2 separate regions of the Homo sapiens genome follow, and region 1 is linked to region 2. The links are contacts of gene promoters, found by promoter capture Hi-C in human tissues and cell types (Jung and others, 2019). All regions are on one chromosome and are shown on one strand. The core of a region is centred on a gene start or on the middle of the fragment in contact, and the rest is flanking DNA. Distances in the headings are between cores, read along the strand shown. Region 1 has its middle 51 kb from the start of LRRCC1. Region 2 holds the start of LRRCC1 (leucine rich repeat and coiled-coil centrosomal protein 1).

Evidence for each region. Contacts are between HindIII fragments. The study calls those that stand out against the background at their distance.
Region 1: a fragment that was not itself captured here is called in contact with the fragment with the promoter of LRRCC1 in region 2 in 1 of the 25 tissues and cell types used here (hippocampus).

Annotation. Positions count from the first base shown.
Region 1 is chr8:85,054,156-85,057,721 of GRCh38, reverse strand. No RefSeq gene overlaps it. Among named protein-coding and RNA genes, the nearest start is that of LRRCC1, 51 kb to the left of the region's middle. The HindIII fragment of the contact is 3,395 bases long and covers 59-3,453 here.
Region 2 is chr8:85,105,170-85,108,524 of GRCh38, reverse strand. It overlaps LRRCC1 (leucine rich repeat and coiled-coil centrosomal protein 1), which reads right to left and starts at 1,287. Exons shown (of 19, transcript NM_033402.5): 1 at 1,126-1,287. The coding sequence starts at 1,229. LOC105375933 (a long non-coding RNA gene) reads left to right here and starts at 663. Exons shown (of 3, transcript XR_929117.3): 1 at 663-966. RefSeq lists an enhancer at 1,116-1,175. The HindIII fragment of the contact is 9,097 bases long and covers 1-3,355 here.

The DNA.
Region 1 (3,566 bases), core at 507-3,006, 51 kb after region 2:
CTGGCTAGCAAGAGATGACAAGAATATGTGTCTAGCATGGGCAACTGAGCCTCACTTGGTATTTCATTTAGCATTGCAAGTGTGTGATGTAGCTGCCTTGTCTGGTGCAATTTTATGTGACCAGATATGCACAGGTCTGAATTCACAAAAGACCTCATTTTCCTAATCAAGAACATATTTAAAAGAGAGTCATACATGTCCAGAGGACTTTACCTCCAGGTATGTTGAGAAAGAGAGAGAGAGAGACACTAAAGGTAGAGGTTAGCAAATTGAAGATCTTTGAAGCATACCACTTTCTTTTCTGTATACTTGATTTCTAAAAATGTAGAAGTGAAATTTTACTTTGCCATAGTAAATTCTAATAAATGCAGCTTTGCTTAATTAAACTTTGGTGATATTTTTGGAAATTCAACAATGTGAAAGTTCTACCAAGATCCATTCAAGAAATCTTCATTGCAGCAACTCAAGACGCTCAACTCAAAAACAGTGTGCTTCACCAAGGTTCCTTGAGCCTCCTGTTTGGGCTATGCTATCTCACACTACAGTATGAGATGTTTCACCTTGGGTCTGACCTATGATTTCCTTTTCGTTGAGCTCCCAAATGCTAAGGTTATTTTGTTTCCTCAGAAATTAGATCTCTTTTAAGAATCCTTTTATTATGTAATCAGATTTAAAAGTTTTTTGCTTATTGGAAAACTGCCTTGCTAGTAATAACATTATTTTCTCTGTCTATCCTTCTCCTTATTTGTTATGATTCTGCTATAGTAAATTCATAGGGAAGAGGTCCAGTATAGGGCCTGTTAAATCCATTCTTTAAGACAGTCCTGGGACCTAAGAAATTCAGAAGCTTTCTCCTCAGAATGGCGTTCTTTGGATACATTTTGCCTTCAGTCACTTATTAAAAACCTTATGAAAACTTTACCCACACTTACCTTGTTTTGTCTAGTGAGAGTCTGACTGTGGAAAAGATCTCCTCTTCAAACCTTTTATCTACTAGGAAATGCGTATTTTTCAGACTATAGGCAGCCCACCAATTAGGTTGTGGAGTCTCGAAACATGAAGAGCATAAGCAATGCGTTCAACTGATTGTTGCCTAGAATATGACATCTTACTAGAGGAAAAATCTGCCGGGCAGAACTTATCATGGTCACCAGAGCTTTGCCAACTAGTGAGTAATAATAGAGTTAAGACATATACTGAGAGTAGTATGCCTTTGGAGTAGTCCATGATTTTGGAATACTGAAAAAATGAGTTTTTTGTTTTCTTTAACCTCTGTAGAAATCCTAGTGAAAAAAGTGAAAAATAATCAGCTCATTTAAGAATTTGTAGGTGTTTTAATGCTTTCTAAGAAGGTGACTATGATAAAAGTGTGAATCCATACAACAAGGCAGATCATTGAGGCTAAAAGAAATGCTCAAGCTGCTGATTGATTACACCTGACAGGCAGCCCTCACAAAAGTACTGGCCCATATAATGCTGACTAGAATGGTTCCCACAGGCTACTATAAAATGCCAGCAATGTGGCATCACACTTTGGTTCCAAGTGTGAAAGAGTTACTGTGGAAAAATCTGGTAGAAAATTGGGCAATTGATGTCTGGTGCTTTCATAAGGAGTGCTTTGTGATGCCAGACATTACAAAATATCCCTCAAGCCAGAGAGGACAAATCAGCCATTGTACTCAAGCAACTAGTGGAGGGGAGGGGACTTTTTGCGAAGGGATGAGGTGGCTTTGTGCATGTCTGATCTAACAAACATTGAAAAATTCTTATGTTTAATATTGTGTAATCAAAGTTCCAGTTGAGACCAAATAAGGCTATCAATAATAGTACCATTTAGACAGGATCTGAAAACATGCTGCTTTGCACCATGGCTCAGTGTAGAAGTGCACAACGGGGAAGAAAGAAAAATATATGGTACCTATTAAAAATTATATACCTTTAAAAGTTGAAACTTAGAATAAGAAATATCTATCTGCAGTCATACTCCTGATTCTTCCTCCCAGAAGAAACCATTTTCTGTTATTTTCAGCGCTTGTGTCCATATTTCTAAATATAATTTTATCATTTTAAAACATTTTCAGTTTAGATATTAAAATGGTTAACTAAAGAGATTTCGCTCTTTTACATGAATGTACCACTTCCATTATTTTCTCTCTTCCCATCTTCCCAAAGTAGTTGTATCTCAATTGATTAAATTGATATTTGGTTTTTACACCATTATCACCTTTTAAGTATCATTTTCAGCTAAGCAATTTATTAAATTTATTTTTTCTTGTATTTTTTATTTTCTATTTTTCTTTCATATACCTCTTACTAATTAATTCCCAAATATTTTGATGGAACTGCAATCTCTTGTCCATATATCCAAGCAGCTGTTTTGTTTTTTGTCATTTTTAGATATTTCTTAGAGTTCTCAATCCTTCTCCTCCAATTTTTACTGGTTACTTTCTTTGTTTCACAGATGGAATCTTGAGATTCTCCATTATGATCAATCTGGGAATTTCCCTTTACCTCTTTCCTTCATCCTGTGTCCTGAATACCATGTTTTCATTATTTCTTGGTTTATGCTCTGCTGGAGTACAAATCCTACAGTAGAGTCTTGAGAAGGGCTGTAACTATTTTGCCTTCAGCTTTTGAGATGTTTGGGGATTCATCTTCTTACTGGCTTCCTCCAGTCTTCCTTAGTTATCAGCTTTCTCTAAAGGCAATGTCAGTTACTACCCATTCTTCTAAGTTCTAAAATTTTGTTAACATCTCTTATTTGCTGCTGTTTCCTACTCTGTTCTCTTTATCTTTACACATTGTGCATATTTTATTCCTTTATTGTCATTGTAGTGGGGTTTCAGGAGGGAGCAAGTAGCAGCACCTTTGTTCAACATACCTTGTTAACTATAAAACTCTCATCAGATTTTTAGTTACCATAATCGAGAATGACTAATCTGGTGTGTATACAGTGAAGGCCAGAAGTAGCTCAGGAAAAAAGTCATTCAACAGGCCAGTTGATGTATTAAATTGCTGCTGCCAGATGGAGGTTATGCATTCTTCAATGTTGAGGATATTGTGGACTTTTCCTCCTGTTTTCATTTTTAGTTTCACTAAACAAAATGGGCACTAGATGGCTCTATAAAAGCATATATATTCAGAACATTCCATTCAGCTCAAGAATTAAGCATAAAATCTTTTAGAACAAAAGAAAATTTAAGCATTTTTTTAGTTATGAGAAAGTGAGTTGAAAACTATTACTAGCCATTAAGGAATAAATTACGCACTTGTAAATTTTTGAAGTGTTCTTTATTGTCAGTAAATATTTATCGAATATGTACCAAATGCCAGGTACTAGAAGCAGTGCTGGAGCTGTAGTGATAAGAGAAACAAAAACGGCACTGTCATCATGGAATTTACTGGCAAAGAAAAAAAAATTCAGAAGATAAACAAAGAATTATAAATGATGAATTAAATAGTTCCAAGAATGCAAAGTTTTTTTTCTTTAATTTTCCACCTTTATATCCTAATTTTCTTTTTTTTTCTTTTTTTATTATACTTTTAAGTTCTGGGTTATGTGCGCA
Region 2 (3,355 bases), core at 38-2,537:
ATAATGTGAGATAGAAAAAGCATAGTGAAATTAGACGGAAAATGGGTTTGAATCCGAACTTAATTCTTCATGAAGTGTATAAAGATGAACAAATTGTCAATAGATTCTGAGTCTCATTCATCACTTGTAAATGAGAAAAATTACTACCTTGTAGAATTGCTGTGAGGATTACTGATAATGTATATAACATGCACACAACAGATAGCATTCAGTAAATGGCAGCTAGTATTAAATAGAAATGTAAAATGTCCCTTGAACAGCATCTTCTTGGGATCATCTGGCAAAGTTTAAATCAGAATCCAGAACAAGATGCTTAATTATCAGTAGCAGAGTTCGCGTAGAGGACACGCTACAAAGGAACAGCATGTGCAAAGGCACAGAGAAGTCTGCTATGGAATTGCCTGTAGCTCAGTACAGGTAAATAAAGTGTAAGTGGAGAAATGTTACGGGTCGAGACTAAAGAGCCTGAAATGCAGGTGGAGACCTGCTTTACAGTATTACAGAACCAAGTGCCTCATATGCTTTGCACAAGTCAGGGCTTCAAGAGAGAGGGAAACGATGAACTAAATATAGTAAGTTTAGTACTTTCAAAAAGTATATGAATATATGTATTGCAATGTTCTGTAACGGACAAATGATTTCGAATGCAGACAAGGAGAACTGAGGCAAAACTAACAGGCAGCAGCGACTGCCCGCTCATAGCTGCCAGAGATACTATCCTGCAGGTTTTTTTCAGAGGTAAGAACAGGAAAGACGAGAGAACACGAGAAAACCAGCAATTAAACGGCAAGCAAAGGAATAACCACCAGTAAGTAAGGAAAACCAGCAGAAGGAAAGAGTGGTCAGAAGCTGGTGGAGGACAAGGTCCTGGGGCAGTTTCTAGGCTAAGCAGAGTCGTGTGAAACGCTGGGCAGGAGACACGGGCGGGAAGGCATCCACGGCTCATTCAACCTGGCACTTCGGCAGGTAAGTTTTGGAGGAGCGGGGAGGCCGAAAGCCAGACTGCGTTCACTTATGGTCTTGGTAAAGCAGTGCCGCGCCTCCACTCTGGTGTCGCCGCCAGCCACTCGTGGCCCCGGCTCTGGGGAGTGCGCGGGTCGCTCCTGGCTGCGGAGCGCCCTTTACCTCTGCAAGCCTTTGTCCATGAAGCATACATCCCCGCAGCTGCTGTCGCCGTCTTCGTTTTCCACTTCCGCCTCTGCCGCCACCACCGCCGCCGCCGCCTCCATAGCACTGGCGACGGGGAGCGGGGTCTTAACCGGCACCCAGCGAGGGGTCCGTGAGCTTGGGACAAGCCTCCCGGAAGCGCGGAAGGGCGGCCCGAGGGGGCGGGGCGGGGCGAGGACCCACCCTCCAACCGACAGCCGGGAACTTTCCCGCCTTGACGGTGACGCAAAACTGGAATCCTCGTCCCAACTGTGGGCTTCTTTCGTTTTTACAGCATCTGCGGTGCGACTCTTGAACTTGCTGTAAAGTAAAACTGCTTCCCGGGCGTGTAGGAGCTGGAGAATGAATGGATTTGTCCTGTGTGCTTCTGTATATTTGCCTAGTAGCCGACTGACTTCTGAAGGCGGTTTTCACAGCGGTTTGGCTTTACGTGCCTTTACATAGCCTTACATACGTATAAATTGTTCCTCTGGCCATTGCACCTCCTGTTGATTCATTGAACAATTTGTGGGATGCCTTACTGTATGTCAGTCACTTCCCTGTATGAGGAAGAAAAAGATGAAGCCTATTCTTGTTCCTGGAAACATTCGCAGCCCCATAGAGGAAACAGAATTGCCATACAGTATGACGAATGCTAAGAATAACACAAGGGCATCGAAACCAACTCTAGAGTGATATGGGTAGTGGGTACGTTTTCTAAAAGAAGTGATTGATGACTGAATAGAGTCTTGCTGGGTTAGGGGGAGTTCTGGATGAATGGCATTACAGGTGGGAAAGCAATACCTGTGTGAGGTCAAATAACCCTCCTGGCTAGATTGCTTCCTAAGGCATAGTAATATTTTAAAACGGAGCAAATGGTGCAGTAGTCCATTTGAAGTGGACTATTTCCTTTTGAAATAACTCATATAGACAAAAATAAAAAAGATGTTTTAAAAAATGAGCAAAACCCACATGACATGTAGGACACCATAAAGTGACCAAATATTCAAAATTTTGGAGTCTCAGAAGGCAAAGAGAAAACAATAGAGTTGGAAAAATGGTTCAACAAAATACTATATGAAAACTTCCCAAGTCTAGCAAGAGATTTAGACACCCAGGCACAGGAGGCCAAAGGTTCCCAAACAGATACAATGCAAAAAGGTTTTCTTTTAAAAAAAATTTCATCTCACTTTTTATTTTAGATTCGGGGGTACATGTGCAGGTTTGTTACATAAGTATATTGCACGATGCTGAGGTTGTGGCTTCTAATGATCCTGTAACCCAAATAGTAAATATAGCGCTTGATAGGTAGTTATTCAACTCTTGCCTTCCCCCTTTTGGAGTCCCCAGTGTCTATTGTTCCCATCTTTGTGTTCATGTGTATCCAGTGTTTAGCTGCCACTTGGAAGTGAGAACATATGGTATTTGGTTTTCTGTTTCTGTGTTAATTCACTTAGGATAATGACCTTCAGCTGCATCCATATTGCTGCAAAGGACATGATTTTGTTCTTTTTTATGGCTGCATGTTGGTGTATATGTGCCACATTTTCTTTATCCAGTCTATCATTGATGGGCATCAGGGCTCATTCCATGCCTTTGCTACTGTGCTGCAATAAACATATGAATGCGGGTGTCTTTTTGGTAAAACAATTTATTTTTCTTTGGCTAGATACCTGGTCATGGGATTCCTGGATTGAACGGTAATTCTATTTTTAGTTCTTTGTGAAATCTCCAAACTGCTTTCCACAGTGGCTGCAATTTGCATTCCCACTGATGGTGTGTAAGCATTACTTTTTCTCTGCAACCTCACTAACATCTCATATTTTCTGACTTTTTAATAAAACCCACTCTGACTGCTGTGAGATGATATCTTATTATAGTTTTGATTTACATCTCTCTGATTATTAGTGATGTTGAGCATTTAAAAATATGTTTCTTGGCTGCTTGCATGTCTTCTTTCGCAAAAAAGAAAAGAAAAGAAAAAGTCTCCTTTATGGCCCATTGTAGTCAAACTGATAAAAGTCAAAGACAAAGAATTCTAAAAACAGCAAGAGAAAAACATCTAGTCATTTATAAGGGAACCCTCAACAAACTAACAGTGGATTTCTCACCAAAAACTTTACAAGCCGGCAGAGAATGGTATGATAAATTCAAAGTGCTGAAAGAAAAAACAGCCAGCCAAGTACTCAACAAAGTTATCCTTCATAAA